Linked DNA regions of Homo sapiens: all the other regions are linked to region 3. Evidence: promoter capture Hi-C in 16 types of primary human blood cells and fetal thymus (Javierre and others, 2016). All regions are on one chromosome and are shown on one strand. The core of a region is centred on a gene start or on the middle of the fragment in contact, and the rest is flanking DNA. Distances in the headings are between cores, read along the strand shown. Region 1 has its middle 26 kb from the start of LINC02644. Region 2 has its middle 82 kb from the start of LINC02644. Region 3 holds the start of ZEB1-AS1 (ZEB1 antisense RNA 1).

Region 1 (4,242 bases), core at 505-3,004, 570 kb after region 3:
TCTCTCAAAAGTTGTCCAATCTGGGACCTCACACACAGATGGCTTATTACTTTCTGAACTCTGCCAGCAACTCACTGGCATGTCCACACTGGAAATGCTGAGAACATCTTCCCAAACACACGTTGGGTTGAAATTCTCACAGGTGAACAATGGGACCGACACATGTGCACCAAGCAACGACATGTAGAATAAAAATAGACCAATGACCTGCACACGGCGAGGGTTTTTTCAGTTTTCTCTCAGGCTGGATTTCCTGAGGAGTAGGAGTGTAAAAGCTGTGGGTATTTGCTGCCTGCCTCAGGAAGTCCTGACTCCCCAAATAGTGGTTACAGCAAACACCTCTGCACTCTCATTCTCAGAACCCAGAAGAAGCCGAATCCAGGACTCATTTGCTTGTTGTCTTTGGAGGGCTTGTGGGAAAAGAACAATGGCTTCTGTGATACTTGGCCAGGCTTAAGGAGAAGTCATTGGCCACAGCTTCTGAGCAGAGCTGGACTCAGAGATGGACCTGGGGCAGGGCTTTGCATGCAACTGCCTCACTGAGCCCTTAATTGCCACCAAGCTTTGCATACATAGCACCTTTCCTTGGTGACTTAGTTTGTTGTCCCACCAGAAGTACTGGTGGAAAGCAGAGAAGGCACCTTCTTCAGGTCACAGGAGAACTGTATTGTTCTAGATGAATTTCTCACACCAGGATTCCTGCACATCTACCAGGCAGGTCTCCAACACCCCCACACCCCCAGGACCCTGTGAGGACCAGCCCTGCTGAGCCTTCAGAGCCTGACTTTGTCTTGCATAAGATTCAGGCTCCTCTGACGGCTCCCCAAGTTCTGAGTCCCCTGTCCCCACGCCCATCCAGCTTCATTTCCCCTCTTCCACAGCAGACCCCTCTGTCCTCATCGCGCCCCTCTGTCCATCTTCATTGCACATTGTTCCTTCAGCTGCAACACCTTACATGGTCTTCCCTCTGTTGTATCTCCCCTTCAGCCTGCAGGATCCGGGCCACATTCCATCTCCTTCATTCAACCATCTTGTCTAGCCTGAATTTCATCACAAATGCCCCCTTTTCTGAACTCCTACAGCATTTATGTATCAAATAGAACTTGCTAGTATTTTTGCCTCTGCAACTCTGTAACAACTCCTTTGAGGAGAGGGAGGTACAGTGGTGATAGGGGGTGAGCCATCTGCAGGTGGGGGCTCTGGGGCTCTGGGGGTCCAGCCGTGGCCTCCCTGCTCCTCATTAGCTGTTGAACAAATCACCCCCGCCCAGTGATTCTCAGCTTGGGGGCAATTTGTTCCCCTAGAAGACTATAGAGACCAGAGACTTTTCTGGTTGTCACAACCGGGATGGCGCTACTGGCCTTGGAGGCCAGGGATGCTGTAAAACGTCCTGCAATGCATAGGACAGCTCCCTATAACAGAAAGATTTTTCAGCCCCAAATGTCAATGGTGAGAACCCTGCCCTACATTATCTGCTGATCTCCTCACCTGTAAAAAGAAGAAGGGTATGAAAAAATAAACTGAGAAAAAAATGTGTGAAAGCAGAGGAAAACTGAAAACACTGAAAATGCTATATCCACTGAAGCTATTTATATTAGACTTCTTGCTCTTGACACCCCTGTAACAGTATTTCTTCATTTGTGGAGTAGGGTTAGTGGGATGATGGCCGGAACACCGAATGAAGGCTCATTGTGGGTGATCTCATTTGATCCTCAGAGAAGCCCAACTGCATTGGCACCAGCATAGGCCCTGCTTTTCTACAGAGAAGACGGGCGTCAAGCCACACAGAGGCAGCTCAAGGGCACACACTCAGGCAGTGGTGGAGCAGGAGTTTCTTAGTTCCCACTGTGATCAATGGTTGCATCATCTCAAGACAGTGCATGGAAAAGCATTGGAAAACGTTGGAATGCTGTACACGTGTGGTTGCAGTTGCACATCTGTGACCCCGTCCTGATAGCATGATGTCATACGTGCCTTGGAGATTCAGCGAATGCCTGGAGATTAATTAAATGTGAATTACAGCCAGGCACGGTGGCTCATGTCTGTAATCCCAGCACTTTGGGAGGCAGAGGTGGATGGATCACTTGAGGCCTGGAGTTCAAGAACAGCCTGGGCAACAAAGCAAGATGTCATCTCTACAAATAATTTTAAAAATTAGATGGGCATGGTGAGCACCTATAGTCCTAGCTACTTGGGAGGCTGAGATGGGAGGATCACTTGAGTCCAAGAGTTCGAGGTTGCAGTGAGCTGTAATCGCAACATTTCATTCTAGCCTGGGCAAAAGAGTGAGACCCTGTCTTTTAAAAGGCACAGGGGAGGGTGGGAGTAGGGAATTACTATATTGAGTTAAGAGAGGCTGAAAACTGTGAGGCTGCTGTGTGACCTGAGAGCCACATCATGAGAATCTAGTGCTTGGAAAGTACTAGATGTTAGGATAAGTCTCCATAGCCTCAGAGGAGCCTGAGACCTTGTGAGAAGGGTGACTTAGAGCCTAGGTCCTGCCTGACTGCCATTCTCAAAGGATGCTTAGCTCCTGTGCACTTTGCCAGCACACTGTGCACAAGTTCATGTAGCTGTTGAAGAGAATCAGTGAAACCAGGGTCCCGGGATGCTTTCCTTCTGGTTCCAGCTGCAGCAGAGTACACAGGCCACAGTGCTTATACCCCAGGGGTGGGCCCAGAGCCTCCAGAGTGGGAGATTCATGACACGGCTCTGTCTCCTGCAGTGATGTCATGCTCTCCTTTCAGCTAGATTTTAATTTCCAGGGAGAGCTTGCTAAGTTCACTGTCAGGATGCTTGTCCATGGGGCTGGAAGGCCCAGCCTCGATCAGCAGCACAGCATCTACTGAACCACGGTTAACTGTTGTCTTTCTGTATTGAAGGGGGTGGGGAGTGAAATCAGGCCTTGCCTGTCATGACATGGCCAGTGTTGGGAACAAAGCTTATCTTGGTCATTTATCATTTCCTCTTTGTTTTTCCATTTGGGAAGTAAGAAATTAAATTGTATCTAAAGAGAATCTCCTTCCAAGGTCTTCCTCTGAAAATCATTCTGGGACTAGAAAGGGTTTTTCCTATGCTCCGGGCAATAAAGCTTTTAAGACTGATGACATTGACAAAATTCTCTGAGTGACACGCAGGAGGCAACATAATCCTTCTGGTAGGAAAAACATCAGTCCAATAAGCAGATAACATATTGCCTGTTCCTCTGTAAATAAAACAGGACACATCAATTTCTCTTCTGCCTGTGAATGATGACCAATTTATCAAGTGTACACTGAATAATGACTTTCCGTGGGGACAGCAGCTCTTAAGATAAAGTGTTACTGCTCTAGCTACATTATTATAAACAACATCCAATTTATGGAGTTGGGAAGCAGATGCATTTCTCAGTCATATGTCACTATTATCTAGAACGAGCCATAAAATCTAGGCTGTCGCATATTTTCTGGCTGCAAACTTCAAGCAATTAATAGTCCTACAAAGCGGTCTTGATCACAGACCAATTTAGAAATTAGTTGTTCAATATGATGATTAAATTCTAGAGCTGGAACTTGCGATGGCCAACTGTGACAAATCTTATACAACTTTTCAGACGGAAGGAACTGTTTGAGACGCTGGGAGTTTTTGGTGAATTTCAAATGAGGTACCTTCACCTCAAGAGTGTGCTGTGATCTGGCCCAGCCTTCGAGAGGAGGATGAGTCACCGGCATTTTCCTGCATCCAAATGCCGTGTCTGGTCCCCAACCCCTGAGTCAGTGTTAGGGAGGCAGCAGACACACAGCAGACGCACCCTTCGCTCTGATGGAGGACAGTGTCCACACTGCTCTCCTGCCAGGTCTTTTTTTTTTTTTTTTTTTTTTGAGACAGGGTCTCGCCCTGTCACCCAGGCTGGTGTGCAGTGGTCCAGTCACGGCTCACTGCAGCCTCAAACTTCTGGGCTTAAGCCATCCTCCCATCTCAGCCTCCCAAGTAGGTGGGACTATAGGCGTGCACCACCATGCCAGGCTAAGTGTGTGTGTGTGTGTTTGTGTGTATTTTTAGTAGAGACAGAGTTTTGCCATATTGCCCAGGCTGGTCTCAAACTCCTGGGGCTCAAGTGATCCGCCTGCCTTGGCCTCCCAAAGTGCTGAGATTATAGGCATGAGCCACTGCGCCCAGCCAAGAACTTTCATTACCACCCTGCCTTTTTCCCCAGCTTAGGGAAGACATAGAAAGCTATAAGTTGGCAGGACCTTAAGTGAG
Region 2 (3,746 bases), core at 1,186-3,685, 510 kb after region 3:
TGGCCACTTGCTTCCCTGTGTTGGATGCAATGGTTGGCCAGGGTATAGGAGATGCCTGTTCACCATGAGGACGTGCTCCCCGAGTGATCCTCTACCCTCTCAGGGTGCAGCTGAGCCTGCACCCTCCTGGCAGGGCCCAAGGCCCCATAGAGGTTGTATCTGAACAGACAAAGTTGCTGTCCCCTCTCCTGCTCCCTCCCCACGGTGGGGAATTCTCTTCAGTCAAACACACCAGCTCTAAGGTTCTGTTGTCATGAGTCTTAGCATCCACACCTCCCACTGCCCTAATGTGTTTTTTTAACCAGGAGTGTTCTGGAAACAGCTCAAGAACTCCAAGGTGAGGCTTTCTACTTGCCCGGTGGGAGTGGGTGGTCAGGGGACAGGTCAGCCTGTCCCTCTGTGACCTGTCACACTCTTGAGGCAGCACCTCCTCTGCCCTCCATGTCTCTAGCTGGCTGAGCATAGGGGACCTCTGTCCTCGAATTCCCAGTGCCTCCCCTCCTACCCCACAGAGGCCCTGCAAGGCTGGGCTGCTGCCTGCCCCTGAGCACTTCCTGGGGTGAGGAGGCCCCTTTGCAAGCAAATGTTTTCAGTGTCCCAGGTGGTTTCATGCTCCATCAGGGACAACAAATGTGATGTCCCTACTTCACTTAGGCCCACTCCTAGGTGAGACCTCGTTGTGTCGTGCTTAAATTGGTGGGAAATCTAGAATCCACGTCCTGGGCCTTTCAGAGTGGGAGATGCACAGAAATGAAACAAAGGTCAGCTCTGGGGTGATGGTAGGACCTCAGACAAGTGTTTCCACAGCCCTTTACAGTGACCACCCCTCCTCGCTACTGAGGGGTGTGTGCCTCCCAGGGGCTTGTTGAGAGAATGAGGAGGTGACTCGCCAAATTGACAGAGTCAGGCCTCCACCCCAGCATTGGATTCCCAAGCCCCTGCTCTCTTACTGAGGGGCACACAAACTCACTCCACCTGCAGGTCATATTTTAGCTCTTAGTGAAATGCTAACACGATTCCCTTAGATTATGATGCCAAAAATGGAGATGAACTCCATTTTTCCTTGTCCAACAGGTGCTTTGCTAAGCTGATCTGGCCCATGGGTCCCAGGCTTGCCTCAGAAAAGAGAAGGAGCAAAGGCGAGGCCAAGAATCACAGTTCTTTTTGATTGAACTTGAGACTTTGAAAATAAATAATAATGCCCCCCTGCCTTTTTTTTCTGGAGATGGAGTGTTGCTCTGTCTCCCAGGCTGGAGTGCAGTGCTGTGATCATAGCTCACTGCAACCTTGAACTCCTGGGCTCAAGCCATCCTCCTGCCTTAGCCTCCTGAGTAGCTAGGACTACAGGTACACACCACCACACCTGTCTAATTTTTTTTTATTTTTAGTTTTTATAGAGATGAAGTCTTGTTTTGTTGCCCAGGCTGGTCTCCAACTCATGGCCTTAAGCAATCCTCCTACCTCAGCCTCCCAGAGTGCTGGGATCACAGACGCAAGCTACCGTGCCTGGCTCAAAAATGCCTTTTCCTGTCAGTCTTAGGTCAGTCGCACGCTGAGGGCTTGGTATGGGGGACTGGATGAATCTGGAAAATGTTGGTGTTGTGAAGTCTGCACCAAGCGCCGGGGCCCTGTAGAAAGCTCACCTTGATCCACTAGGGCCACACTCTGCTCCATGCCAACCACCCCAGCAGTGACAATGCAGGCCATGGGCTCAGCTGTCCAGCAGATACCGGGTGGACCCAGGGCAGCCTTCAGGACCCCTGGAATGACTTGTGCCGACGTGGGACATGGAGATGAGCAGGAAGCCCCAACATGCAACTGTTCTGATTTATAGTTCCAAGACTTTAATAACGCAGCTCTTTGACACAAAACATAGTAATGGCTACTTGGATCTGTTTCAATGTATCATGTCACCCTTTGCTTTGGAGATGTTACAAAGCTGTTATGGACACCATCCAGGGTCTGGTTTTACAAGTGTGTTGCTTAGAAGTGCAACTGTGTGTTGGCTCGGCTGATGTTCAAATCTTTGGAGGAGTTTAGTGGGGAGGAAGATTAAAGTGACTATAAAACCACAATCTATGTACAAAATGTATCATGGATTTTAATTTGAGAGCTGTTCTTTTTTTTTTTTTTTCCTCTTGCCTCATACAGCTTGAGGCAATGGTTTCTAGAAGAGTCTTTTGTTTGCATTTAAAGCTGCTCTGGAGAAACACTGTTTTCAACGTTTCTGTGGGTCATAAAACGGTTGGTCTGAGTCCTGGCTGGGTACCCTGGGTGACGCAGGCGTGGGTTGAGGACTGGAGAGCACATGTCCTTTGTGGAGGAGTCCTCACCACAGACAGGAGGCTGCCTGCTGGAGACAGGGCCCTGCCGGGGGTGGCCCAGAGGCTGCCAATCATGGAGCTCCAGCACCTCATATGTGCTGGGTGCATCTCCTTCCCTGGCTTCAAGTTAAAGAAATTTGGGTCCTAGGGTTTTGTTTTGTTTTGTTTCATCCTAAAACGTGAACCTTCCAGTGTGGCCTTTAGACATGAATTTCGTAAATGATTCTGACCTTCTGGGTCTCCAGTTGCTTCGAAGGGAGTTTGGAGCATGGAGGACAGTATCGGGAGGCCACAAGGGCAGGAGTGTCAGTTTCCTGTTGATGATGCCAACACATCATGCCTCTGCACGTCCCGTCCTCTTCCTGTTCTGTGGGAGGTGAGATTCCCATATGTGATGTATTGCTGTTGCATATCAGGCTGGGCGATGGGTCTTGCTTCACAGGCAGAAGGTCAGCTTTCCCAAGCCAGACACTGTCCCTTCCATCTCCTTTTCATGCCCAAATGGTAAGAGGACTCAATACACAATCTGGATTGAATTAAAAGTCCAGGACCCAGCGTTCCTGCCTGAGACATCTGGGCCTGGAGGAGGAATGCAAGCACAGCTGCCAAGTGCCTGGGAGAAGAGTGTGGTCAACACTTGCTGTTTCTGTCTTCATTAGAAAACCCTACACTGGAGGGCAACCTGCAGGCTTCAAAGGCCACATCCCACAGCCTCAGGGGCTGCCCTCCTGCTGCCTCTAACTCAGGTGAGAGGACCTTCAGCACCCATTTCCACCCTCATGGGTTAACCTGGCGATCTAAGCCCCGCGGGACCCTTCAATTCCAGTCCAAGTTCCGATCTCAGCTTGGCTTGGAGTTCAGAGTAAGTTCTGTCCTGAACATGAAAACCACAAAAATCTCCATCCGGAGAGGGTTCAAGAATTTATTTACTCAGGAAATGTCTACTAGACGTTGGAGTATGTTAAAAGACCTCCATGCTGGGCTGAGAGTCAGCTCACCTGAGTCCAGTTCTGCTTCCCACCTGTATTCATTTGCTAGGGCTGTCATGACAAAGCACCAGAGACCAGGATGTTAACCAACAGAAATTGATCGTCTCAGCATTCTGGAGTCCAGAAGTCCAAGATCAAGGTGTTGCATGGTGGGTTCCTCCTGAGAGCCATGAGGGACAATCTGTTTCATGCCACTGTCCTAGATTCTGGTACTTTGCTGGCAATCTTTGGTATTCCTTGGCTTGTAGAAGCATCAACCCAACCTCTGGCTTCGTGATCACATGTTCCCCCTGCAAGCATGTCTGTGTCTGTGTCCAAACTCTCCCTTCTTGTAAGAATACCAGTCATATTCAGCCAGTCAGTTGGATTCGGGCCTGTCCTAATGACCTCACCTTAATTAATTACATCCAACAGTGACCCTATTTCCAAATAA
Region 3 (4,092 bases), core at 445-2,944:
CAATAACAATCAGCAGACATTTCGCTGCTGCACGAGAGGGAGAGAAAGCATAGCATCGCCCCGAGATAACCAGAAATACAATCAACTTACAACGTCTCTCCAAACTGGAAAAGGCGACTGTGCAACCACCACCACATGTTCAGGTCTCGATCCCTCGGGCTGTCTCTCTTTTTTTTTAACTCTCACGCCAGGCAGAGGGGTGTGTGTTTCCCTTGGCACAGCAGCACAAATCAATAAACACTGCAGCTGCGGTGCAAGTAGCAGCCCCGCGCGTCCGTCGGTCCGTCCGCCCCCTCCCCCACCCTCCTTCCACCCGAGACCCAGAGCGCCATCCAAGCCCCATTATCCGGCTTCAGCGCTCCGTGCGTCCGGCCCAGGTAACAACTTCCCCAAAAACCGAAAGAGAAAAGCGCGAGGCGCACGCACACCGGCCCATCCCGGCGCAGAGACCTCGTCTGCCCCGGGAGGGGGATCTGTCTGTGGTGCTTCCCGGTCTCTAAGCCCAGGTAACAACTCCGCAAACACACCCGCCGCCCAGCTCGCCCCCATCCGCGCGGCTCCCGGCGGCGTTAAGTGGGTACCTTTCCTGCCTTGTTCCCCGCGCCGCCCCGCCGCGCCCCGCCAAACGTGGACCCCACTCGCGGGGCTCGCCGCGGAGTCCCCAGGCCGGGGCTCTGGGCCGGGCAGCGGGAGGCGCCAGGGAGGAGGGGCGCTTAGGGACCCGCGCCCCCGCGCCTCTAATCCCCGTTACGCGAGCGCGCCCGGCCCGCGGGTCCCAACTTTACCGCCGCCGGCCGAACCCTGTCCGCCCGCGGCGCGCACAGCCGGCGCCCGCGCACACGCGCGCACAAACCCCACGCAACCCGCGGCCGCCCCGTCCCGCCGCCGCCGCAGCCCGCCTGCCGCGCGCCCACAGCCCGGCCCGAGTCGCGGGGCCCGAGCGACAGCGACGGCGCCGGCCGGGGCCGCGGCGCGCGGAAGCCACTTTGCACGGTCAGCGCCGGGCACAAGTTTGTTCCGCGGCTCCCGGGGGCCTGGGCGCTGAGGGAGAATCGCGCTGAGGGGGCCAGGAGGAGGGGGAGAGGGAGGCGCCGAAGGGCACAAGAGTGGGGAAAAGTGCGGAAAGAAGCAACAGCCGCTCCACCCGGGACCAGAAAAGTGGCCAGTGCGTCCCGGCCGCCCGCCCTGCGCCGGGGATGCGGCGGCGTCGGCGCCGGCTAACGGTCCAGGGAGGCGGCAGGGGCGGCGGGAGCCGCTAGGCGGAGAGAGACCAGGTAAGAGACATAACGGTTCAGGGAGAGCGAGCGGCCGCGGCGCGGCTCCGGCAGCGGCGGCAGCGGAGGGGGGCAGAGAGCACTACTTTCTACTTTCCCACTCCACTTTGCCGTCCCTGCCCCGGCTGCCCCCAGCCCGGCTCGCCCCCCTCACCCCCGGGGGCGCCCCGGCTGCCCAGCTCCCCCTGACTCCGCCGCTCCCCGGTCCCCTCCGCCACTCACCGTTATTGCGCCGCGGGTTCGCCTGCTTTCTGCGCTTACACCTGGGGCCATCCGCCATGATCCTCTCGCTTGTGTCTAAATGCTCGAGTCACCTCCTCCCCCTCCCTCCCCCTTCCCCCCCACCCCTCCGCCTCCACCCCTCCCCCCTCCCCACCGCACCTGGTTTACGACACTCCCGGCTTTACGACATCACCTTCCTTACACCTAGAGGCTCTCGCTCTACGGCCGGAACCTTGTTGCTAGGGACCGGGCGGTTTGCGGCAACCGTGGGCACTGCTGAATTTGAATTGAGGGGCGAGGGAAAAGTTTTCCTCAGGTGTGGTGGGGAGAGGGAGGCGGATGCCGGGAAACCGTAGGGACGCGGTCAGAAAGGCGACGGGCTGTCGGAGTTGGAAAGGTAAAGTTGGAGGCTCGGCGGCGTCCTGCCTCCGCGCTGGCCACACCCGCCGCGGCTGCCCGGGGCAGGGAGGGATCTGGCTGATTCTCCCTGTACCCTGTGCCCTCGGAGCTGCCCCTCCGAGCGCCCAGAGGTCCCCGCCTGCCTGCTTCCTGGAGGCAGGGCTACCATCAGTCCCACGCCTCGCGTGTCCGCCCCCCGCACCCCGGGGCCAAGGAAAGGGATCGCGGTCTGGACTCCCCGGGGAGTTCCCTTGATGAGGGGAAGGGCAGGTTTGGGGACGGCGAGGACACGCGGCGACCGGAGAGAGGCTACCTGACCCGCGCAGCCCGGACTCCCTTCCCTTCCCTTCCAGGGACGCCTGGTTTCCCCCCAAGCGAACCGGGATGGGAAGTGACTTCAATGAGATTGAACTTCAGCTGGATTGAAAGAGAGGCTAGAAGTTCCGCTTGCCAGCAGCCTCCTTAGTAGAGCGGAATGAGTAATACCCACACGGTGCTTGTCTCACTTCCCCATCCGCACCCGGCCCTCACCTGCTGTCACCTCGGCCTCCCACACCCGGTCCGCGCTCCCCGCCCTCTTCCTCGCGTAGAACCGTGGGATCCTAGGTGGCAGGACTCAGAGCTAAGGTATCCACAGGCCATGAATTCCTTCCTAAATGAGCGGTCATCGCCGTGCAGGACCTTAAGGCAAGAAGCATCGGCTGACAGATGTGATCTCTGAACCTGATAGATTGCTGATTTTATCTTATTTTATCCTTGACTTGGTACAAGTTTTGGGATTTCTGAAAAGACCATACAGATAACCACAAATATCAAGAAAGTCGTCTTCAGTATTAAGTAGAATTTAGATTTAGGTTTCCTTCCTGCTTCCCACCTCCTTCGAATAAGGAAACGTCTTTGGGACCAACTTTATGGAATAAATAAGCTGAGCTGTATTTCAAGTAATATAGTTATAAATTAACAATGTAGCAGTTATTGATAGAGAAATTGAGAAAACTGAAACGTGACCGGAGTATTGGAAATAACGTAGTACATCACCTAGCACAATGACACATAGTAGGTGCTCAATAAATTTATGCTTATAATTTTTGTCACTTCTATGGCAGGATTTTTTTATTAGGTTAAAATTATCTTTTAAACACCTTCCGGAATTTTAGAATATTCATTAATAATGTCTTCAAACCTTTCAACTGAAATAAATTTACAGCTGAAGTCTGATGATTTAAAGTTAGAAAGTTTAATCTTGAATATAAATGAACATTTTCTCTCCCACATTTTCTTGGGCATTTTGAGAAGTAAATGCGTTATTTATTGGTCCATGAAATGTGACTGTAAATATTCTTTGCTATACATTATGTCTATATATCTGCATTCATCCTCAATGCCAAAACTAGAATCATTAGTCTTAATGATCATTTTAAGTACAGGCAGTCCTCGCTTTCCTTGATACCATGTTAACCGAAACTTGTGTATGTCAACACGGTGTCCTTGCTTTGCTTGGTTAAGTGTGAGTTCTTCCTCCCTTTTTTTAAGAGTTGTACAATGTTTTTCAGTCGCCTACCGAATCAGGTCATAGACTATGGAATTGACCCCACCCCACCAACATTTTTACAGCTACCCTGATTTCTGACCAGAAAGGAAAAAAAAACTTTCCAGCTCTATCACACATTTTACCTACTCTTAAACTTAGGAGGTATTACAAATAGCATTTTCTCATGTTCTCTTTCTGGCCTGTACCTCCCTGCTAAGCTTCCTTCAGTGTTCATCCTCACCTCATAGAGAGATGAAGTGAAGAGACAAACAGAAGTCATTTTCTTCCTTACTTTAGTGGTTTCTGGTTTAGTTAGTTTGGGCCAAACTGTGGACAAGTACCTTTTCAGGTAACTTTTTTTTCTTATTTCTATGTCCTCAACACCTAGTGGAGTACGTAGCCAATAGTAGATGCTTAATAAACATTTCTTAAATTAATATTGTTGACCTTTTCTGACCCTGTTCTTGACAGTAAGGTACATAATCTGCCTTCATCCCTTTAGTCCTTAGGAACAGATAAAGTCATGGATATGAAAGTGATCACTGTCATTAATATCCACATTAAAATTGCTCTTGATTTTAGTTTCTCCATAATCATTTTCCCTAAACAATGAACTCTGTTCACCTTTTTTTTTAAAATATGCACAGTGAATATTACTGGTAGCCC

What was found. The method cuts DNA at HindIII sites, captures the fragments that hold promoters and counts their contacts. A CHiCAGO score of 5 or more calls a contact.
Region 1: a contact is called between a fragment that was not itself captured here and the fragment with the promoter of ZEB1-AS1 in region 3, in 3 of 17 cell types (erythroblasts, endothelial precursors and fetal thymus). The highest score is 8.5, in erythroblasts.
Region 2: a fragment that was not itself captured here is called in contact with the fragment with the promoter of ZEB1-AS1 in region 3 in 2 of 17 cell types (fetal thymus and non-activated CD4 T cells); the score reaches 7.0 in fetal thymus.

The regions. Positions count from the first base shown.
Region 1 is chr10:30,747,240-30,751,481 of GRCh38, reverse strand. No RefSeq gene overlaps it. Among named protein-coding and RNA genes, the nearest start is that of LINC02644, 26 kb to the right of the region's middle. RefSeq lists an enhancer at 107-166. The HindIII fragment of the contact is 2,379 bases long and covers 565-2,943 here.
Region 2 is chr10:30,803,153-30,806,898 of GRCh38, reverse strand. No RefSeq gene overlaps it. Among named protein-coding and RNA genes, the nearest start is that of LINC02644, 82 kb to the right of the region's middle. The HindIII fragment of the contact is 5,425 bases long and covers 1-3,746 here.
Region 3 is chr10:31,316,697-31,320,788 of GRCh38, reverse strand. ZEB1-AS1 (ZEB1 antisense RNA 1) reads left to right here and starts at 1,694. Exons shown (of 3, transcript NR_148979.1): 1 at 1,694-1,893. ZEB1 (zinc finger E-box binding homeobox 1) reads right to left here and starts at 1,573. Exons shown (of 9, transcript NM_001174096.2): 1 at 1,497-1,573. The coding sequence starts at 1,554. RefSeq lists silencers at 999-1,088, 1,129-1,578, 2,319-2,378. The HindIII fragment of the contact is 8,209 bases long and covers 1-3,646 here.